Regions from separate parts of the Homo sapiens genome. Here region 1 is linked to region 2. The links are contacts of gene promoters, found by promoter capture Hi-C in blood cells and fetal thymus (Javierre and others, 2016). All regions are on one chromosome and are shown on one strand. Each heading gives the region's core, a stretch centred on a gene start or on the middle of the fragment in contact. The rest is flanking DNA. Distances are from core to core; before and after follow the strand shown. Region 1 holds the start of NCKAP1L (NCK associated protein 1 like). Region 2 holds the start of NFE2 (nuclear factor, erythroid 2).

The links. Contacts are between HindIII fragments. The CHiCAGO score rates a contact against its expected background, and 5 or more counts as called.
Region 1: a contact is called between the fragment with the promoter of NCKAP1L here and the fragment with the promoter of NFE2 in region 2, in 9 of 17 cell types (neutrophils, total CD4 T cells, total CD8 T cells and 6 more). The highest score is 10.6, in neutrophils.

What each region holds. Positions count from the first base shown.
Region 1 is chr12:54,495,957-54,499,595 of GRCh38, forward strand. NCKAP1L (NCK associated protein 1 like) reads left to right here and starts at 1,796. Exons shown (of 31, transcript NM_005337.5): 1 at 1,796-1,935; 2 at 3,399-3,509. The coding sequence starts at 1,834. RefSeq lists enhancers at 1,758-1,817, 1,928-1,987. The HindIII fragment of the contact is 9,210 bases long and covers 1-3,639 here.
Region 2 is chr12:54,299,133-54,302,789 of GRCh38, forward strand. It overlaps NFE2 (nuclear factor, erythroid 2), which reads right to left and starts at 1,883. Exons shown (of 3, transcript NM_001136023.3): 1 at 1,669-1,883. RefSeq lists a cis regulatory region at 1,655-2,629 and an enhancer at 2,030-2,770. The HindIII fragment of the contact is 10,882 bases long and covers 1-3,657 here.

The sequences.
Region 1 (3,639 bases), core at 546-3,045, 200 kb after region 2:
GAAGAGAACTCTTTTTGATTTATAATTTTTCCTAGGACCTTTTGCTTTGTGTCTTGAAAGAAAGTTGAAATAGAGTTGAAAATTTTCTTGAGTTACGGAGTTAAGGCCTCATTGGAATGGCAAGAATATTTTAATGCTAAAATTCATTCAAGTCTCTAAGATTTAAGGGTGATTACTAATTTCCTCTTTTTAATCTTGATTAATTTGGTTCTTCTTCATGGGGCCTATTTCCTAATTTAGTCTTAATAATTCAACAAATAAACCAGCATATTTATTGAGTGACTACTGTGTCCAAGAGGTATTGTTCTAGATCAGTGTTTTTCAGAATGGAATATTTGTACCAAAACCTCCTACAACAGTGCTTATATAAGTACAGACTTCTAGGCCCCACAACAGACTCGCCTACCTACCAATGCTAATCTCAGAGGACAGGGATTGATCTGTTTCTCAAGCATCCATAAATACCATGGTACTAGAGCACTGGTTCTCAAACTTGAGTGTGCATTGGAATCACCTGGAGGGTTTGTTAAAACACAGAGTGCCTGGACCCACCCCAGAATTTTGGATTCAGTGGTCTGGGGCGGGTCCTAAGAATTTGCATCTCTAACAAGTTTCCAGGTGATGCTGATGCTGCTGGATCACATTTTGAGAATTACTATGTACTTCTTGAGAACTACTTTGAGAATTATTATGTACTGTAGAAGTACAATGCACTGTAGTAGAGCATTGTGAGAAATATAAAAAAGTATTAGAGGCCGGGTGTGGTGGCTCATGCCTGTAATTCCAGTACTTTGGGAGGCTGTGGCGGGTAAATCACCTGAGGTCAGGAGTTCGAGAGCAGCCTGGCCAACACGGTGAAACCCCATGTCTACTAAAAATACAAAAATTAGCAAGGCGTGGTGGTGGGCACCTGTAACCACAGCTACTCCAGAGGCTGAGGCTGGAGAATTGCTTGAGCCCAGGAGGTGGAGGTTGTAGTGAGCAGAGATCATGCCATTGCACTCCAGCCTGGGCAACAAGAGTGGAACTCTGTTTCAAAAAAAAAAAAAAAAAGAAAAAAAAGTATTAGGTACAATTCCTGTCATTAAGGAGCTTATGCTGTAGTTGGGGGAGATACAACGTACACTATAAACATATAACAAGGAATATATGTATTTGACAATATAAAATATAATACAATATAATATTTGACATTGATGGGGTCTTTAGGAGAAGATGGGATTTGATCTGGGTACTAAAACATGATGAGGCCAAAGGTTCATAGGCATTCTTGGATATAAAAGAAGGAAAATATAGAGGTGTACAGGGGTGGGGTGGTAGATACTTGTTTATCTAGCTTACAGCTTTTAATTTTTATTTTTTATAGAGATGGGGTCTTGCTATGTTGCCCAGGCTGGTCTGGAACTCCTGAGCTCAATGGATCTTCCCACCTTTTCCTCCCAAAGTGCTGGGATTACAGGTGTGAGCCACCACGCCCAGCTTTGTCTAGGACACTTATGGGGGCATAAGACCAAAAAGGTTGGTGCAGTCTGTGAAGAGCCTTGAAAGCCTGTCCTTCTCCTCAGCTCCACCCACTTCATAGCCTTACCAAAAGTGCTGCACAGCCAGAAAGAGGAAGTCTCCCCTGCTGAGTGTGCAAGAGGAAGCACAAGAAGGCTCTGAGGGCCTGTGAGCCATAATGACTGATTTCACCCATGAGCCAATTGCAGAGGCAACAGAAGACCAGTGCACCAACCAGGCTGGGTCCCTCCGCCAGAGGGTGTCACCATCTAAGCTGAAAGTGTTTGGGGAGATCAGACATTGCTGTCTGGTGCTCCTCTCTCAGTGGCCATCATGTCTTTGACATCTGCTTACCAGCATAAATTAGCAGAGAAGCTCACTATCCTGAATGATCGCGGTCAGGGGGTTCTCATCCGTATGTATAACATCAAGAAGGTAAGCATGAACAATGGGACTAGTACTGATTATTCCAACAATAATAGGGCAGGGAACCCTGAGGCGGCAGGTGCAGCAGTTAGACTCCCACCTTTTTTTCCACTGCTTTTCCACTGACTATAATCTACATAATCACTCAGATTATACAGGCCAGCCAGTTCAGGAAGGCAGAAGTGGAGGCTTCTTTTCAAGGCTTCCCCTTTCTAGATATGATTCTTGCCCCAACGATGGCATCTGCTTTCCTCTGGGGATGGGGGTGAGGGTGGGGATGGGGAAACAACAGTGGTATTCCAAGTGACTTGGATAAAGGTCTGGGGTCCAACCTTCTGGGTTTTATTATTTATTGTTGATCCTCTACACTCTGAAGAGATCTGAAGCTGGGTCTCTGGCAAAAACTTTTCTGTGGAAGTGCTTCCCTAAAAGGAAAAAAAATAGATAATTAGGTATTTAGATTAAAAAGGGTAGGTGTCTTCTGAGCTGCTCCTGGGGTAGTTCATGCTGTGGTGGTTGTGTGTGTGTGTGTGTGTGTGTGTGTGTGTGTGTTTAGAATAGGAACTGAGGAATTGAAAGAAGCTAGTGACAAGAGGTGGGCTAGGGGCTGGGCAAACCATAGGAAGTAAAGAGATAAAGACAGGGGTGTTTATGGGGAGTTCCTGGCATAGAAAATAGGGGACTTTGGGGGAGGGAGCTTTTGTGTTTTTTGTAATAAAACAAATCACCAGGAACACGGTTTCTCTGTCACCATGAATCCTGTAAATGCCCTTTGGGATAAGATACTTACATAGTGAACAAAATTGTGACACTGAATCTTGTACAAAGTCTAACTCCTGAGCAGCTGCTTTTCTTGTTCCTTCCGGCTTCAGTTGAGGGGCGGGGAAACAGCTTCCTCTTTGTGCTGGGGCCAAGCAGGCATTAAACTCTACCCATCAAGACAAAATGCCTAGGTTGTTATTTCGCTCTTAGATACTTGGCTTAATGTCTTGGAATTTTTTCTTGACCTACTCTTATGCTTTTTATTTTTATATTTATTTATTTATTTATTTATTTATTTATTTTCGGAGTCTCGCTCTGTCGCCCAGGCTGGAGTGCAGTGGCACGATCTTGGCTCACTGCAACCTCCGCCTCCCGGGTTCAAGCGATTCTCCTGCCTCAGCCTCCCAAGTACCTGGGACTACAGTTGTGCACCACCATGCCCAGCTAATTTTTGTATTTTTAGTAGAGACGGGGTTTCACCATGTTGGCCAGGCTGGTCTCGAACTTCTGACCTTGTGATCTGCCTGCCTCGGCCTCCCGAAGTGCTGGGATTACAGGTGTGAGCCGCTGCGCCCAGCCTCTCATGCTTTTTAAATTAGTTCCCAGGTTGCCTTTTCCTAAGACAGATTATGAGAATGAATGTTGCAAGAAGAGGTATGTTTCTGAGGAGGAGGAGAAAGGGTTGAAATATATATGGTTTCTCTCTGCAGACTTGTTCAGACCCCAAATCTAAGCCACCTTTCTTACTGGAAAAGTCCATGGAACCATCTCTCAAGTATATCAACAAGAAATTTCCCAACATAGATGTCCGAAACAGCACGGTGAGAACTTGGTCCTTCTCTCCTTTCTCTGAATAATTCTCTGCTTGAATGGCTGAAATTCTCCTCTTTTGATGCCTCTCTTCAAACTTGGCAGGGGATGGAGTAGTCTTTTTTTATTAATAGTTTTCCA
Region 2 (3,657 bases), core at 633-3,132:
AACCAGCTCTTGGGTGCAGTAGCAAGTTTGTACCAGGTGGCAGGTGGAGCAGGATGCTTTTCCCTAGACGCTCAAGGATGGATGGTGTTCTATACACCAGGCATAGGGTCCCTCTGGGTTTCCAGAGCCTACCTTTCAGAGGACAGCAGAGCTGGCAGGCAGTGGGATAGATCAGGGAGATAGATAGAATTGGATCAAATAGAACACCATAGAGGGTATAGAAACTGGGGAGATACTGGGAAAGTGAAGTGGGCTTCCCTGTGTTCCCTTTCTTTTACAATAAGAAGCTCCCACTTTACAGTTTAGCTTTTGCATTTTGGGGTCACACCACCATCTTACTCCCACTGGGTTGTCTGTTCCTTCTCTTACTCCCCAACATTATGGATTAGGTAGAAATGGGGTTGTCACCAGGGACTAAAGTCCATCCTCCTTACTCTTAGCCTGGTGGTCCTACCCAGAAAGATTTTTATCATAATCCCTAAGTACTCACAGAATGATACGGAGCTTCATGATTAGGAATACAGAGTGAGGACTATTCGGAGAGGGATGATGGAGAGAGGAATACATTTGGCCTTAGCTGCTGCCCCAGGGCTCTTAACTTCCTTAACGAGGGGGAACGATGAGAGGGGGCTTGCCTCAGGATCCCTTTTCTGAGGCTTATTTGACCACCTCACCTCTCCAGGTGTCAATAGGTGCAGTGAAAGGATGAGGAGGGATTAGTAAAACTTGGGGTATTGGTTAACCGGTAAGCAACCTATTTAGAAAGATTAGGGAGAACTCCCGAAGAGAGAGAGACACACAGAGATGAGACAGAATGAAGGGGAAAAAAAGGAGGGAGAGAGATTTAAGCATAGTGAGCTCAGTGCCCTAGGGACATGCATGACTCAAACAAATGTGTGAGAACAAAGAAGAGGGGGACGAGTTTCTGCTATTGTGTCACTTCATCCCTGGACCCCAAACTCCAGTCCTTTGGTACCGATGTCTAGGGGATCCCAGCCCCAGCAGTTCTGATACCTCCTCTCTTCTCTTCCACTGCTTCCCAAGCCCCTATTTCCCAAGCAGCCAAGAGTTCCAGTTAGAAGCAACTATGCTGGGGTTGGGATGTCTTCCTTCTCCCTCCAGGTCCAGCTGATCTCTACTGCCCCTGGGCACAGAGAAGAGAAAGGGCAAAGGAGCCAACAACCCAGAGGCAATCTCCCATCCAACCCCCGCACCTTGCAACACTTCTCAGAGGTTCAGATATCCAGTGTTTCCAATTCCTCAGCTTTCCCTAAACCTTCTCAGCTGCCTAGACAGGGCAGAGTAATGGAATGGAGTTGGGGAAAGGGTAGTCTATTGGTTCCCTCAGGGTAGCCCACCAGTTGAAGGATTCCTCCTGGCTACTCCCCAGCCCCTCAGCGGTGCCTTGCCTCTGGAGACCCCTCTCTGATCCCCATTCACAGCCTCCACCCCAAGGATCCCAGAGCACCCAAGAAACCACTTAGGTCTTCTCCTAGAGGAGTTCCCAAATATGTCAGATTCCTAAACCAGGGGCAATCTAGAAAGTCTGAGGTCTCCTAGGATACCGAAAGTTGGTTATTTTCCCCCCTCACCTCCTTCACCCCCCAGCCTGCCCCTCGGATCTCACTGGAATCCGCCCCCCCCACACACACCCTGCCTTTCAGGCACCTGTGGTGGAGTCACAGCAGGGTGAGGAGAGAGATGAGGCTCCCGGTGTTGTCTCTGGGGAGGCTGAGCCTGAGCTGACACTGCTGGACGAGGATCCCGGCTACCTTTGAGAATCTGCGAGGACCGCGCCCCGCCCCCGGGCCATTGCTGAGCGCTGAGTGTGGAAGCTCAGGCTGAGCTGAGCACAGGAGCCCCAAGCAGGCGCACCAGCGTCTGAAGCCCTCGGCCTGAGTTCTCAGTCCTTCCTCCAACCCTCCCCTTTCCCCGTGGCTCTCCTCTCCTCCTGCCCCTTTCGGCCAAGAGAGGAAACTTGAGCCCGATGTGGTTTCTGCCCACACCCCGCCCCCACCTTGCTCCTGGCCAGCGGGGGCACACATGGCTCCAAGCCTCTCCCAGCCCTCCTTTTCAGCCCAGGAGTCCAGCCAGGTCTGCGTTTCTCCCATGCATTTGACGAATTCCAACCTGATGGTCCACTCGAATGTGACCTTTAAACTTTATACAGGTTGTCGTCGCCTTGTGTCCCCACGGCTCTCCTAGGGACAGGGAAACTGAGTCATATCAAGGTGGAAGGCAGCTGAAGGTAAGGACCAGGTGTCTAGCTTCCCAGCTGTCTAGGCAGTTGGACGTTTAGGGTATAGCCTTCATTTACAGAAAACCTGGGCTCTGGGAACAAGGGCAGGGGAACTATTTGGAGGAGGAGGGGCAACTGACTGCTTTGATGTGTCCTTTCACCTGTAGCCTTCTCCCCTCCCCCCTCAGCCTCAGAAGTCCCAGGACAAAGGATTCTTTCTTGGCCAGGTTTTTGTCAGTGTGTGAAGGGAGTTAGGTGGGGGGCCACCCAGCAGGGAGATTATTCACCTCCCGTAAAGGGGACCCCAGGTGTCCTTTGTCCTCCTTTCTCCCAGGCAAAGCACCCCAGCCACATGGCACCCAACTCTGTTAGGCCAGTAAGTACCCTTATTCATCTTTTTTTTTTTTTTTTTCCAGAGAGGGGCTCACTCTGTCTCCCAGGCTGGAGTGCAGTGGTGTGAACATGTTTCACTACAGTCTCAAACTCCCAGGCTTAAGCAATCCTCCCACCTCAGCCTCCCAAGTAGCTGGTTCTATGGGTCAGTGCAACCATGCCCAGCTAATTTTTTTTTTTTTTTTTTTTTTTGGTAGAAGTGGTGTCTCACTATATTGCCTTGGCTGGTATTGAATTCTTGGGCTCAAGCAATCCTCCCCTCTTGGCCTCCCAAAGTGCTGGGATTACAGGCATGAGCCACCTCACCCAGCCCACTTATTCATCTTTTTGCCTGCAAGCTACACCACCAAAGCCCCAGGTCAAACATCTTTCTCCACAGACTGTGAGAAAAGAGCCTTTCTTCCTCCTAATTTGTAATGGCTTTCAGCTCTATATGTCTAGCTTCAATCCTGACATCTGCAGCTTACATTTTTTCTTCTTACAATGTTCAAGTTAAATTAGAAACATCTGAAGACTGGGGAAGCAGATAGGTGCCACTCTGGAGTAGGACTGGCATTCAACCAGCATGCTCTGATGGGATTGTATTTGCTGTTAAAATAATGAAAATGTTCAGTCCTAGTTGATAAAAGGCAGCTGCTGTGAGCCCTCTAAGTGTCCCCCACGACTCCACCAATAGCCTAGTTCTCCTCTAAGATCCCCAACAACCCAGCAACACAACCATGGAAGTAAAGAGGCAATGCTGGTACCATAAGGAGCCTCCTGTGCTGCCTGCTTCTGCTGGAATTGGCCAATGCCCATGCCAAACCTATGGTTAAATGCTTTGAATTCCATCCCTTTTCCAGTAGATCATGACTGCACATGCATGATCAAGGTAAGACAGGAGGCAATCCAATGCCTTCATTACATGTTACATGTGGGTTCAGAATCTCTTCAGACTTGGGCATGAATCTGGGTCACATATGTAGGCTCTCAGATATAATTCTCTCATTTGCATATTTATTTGGGCCACTCAGAGGGGATGAAGA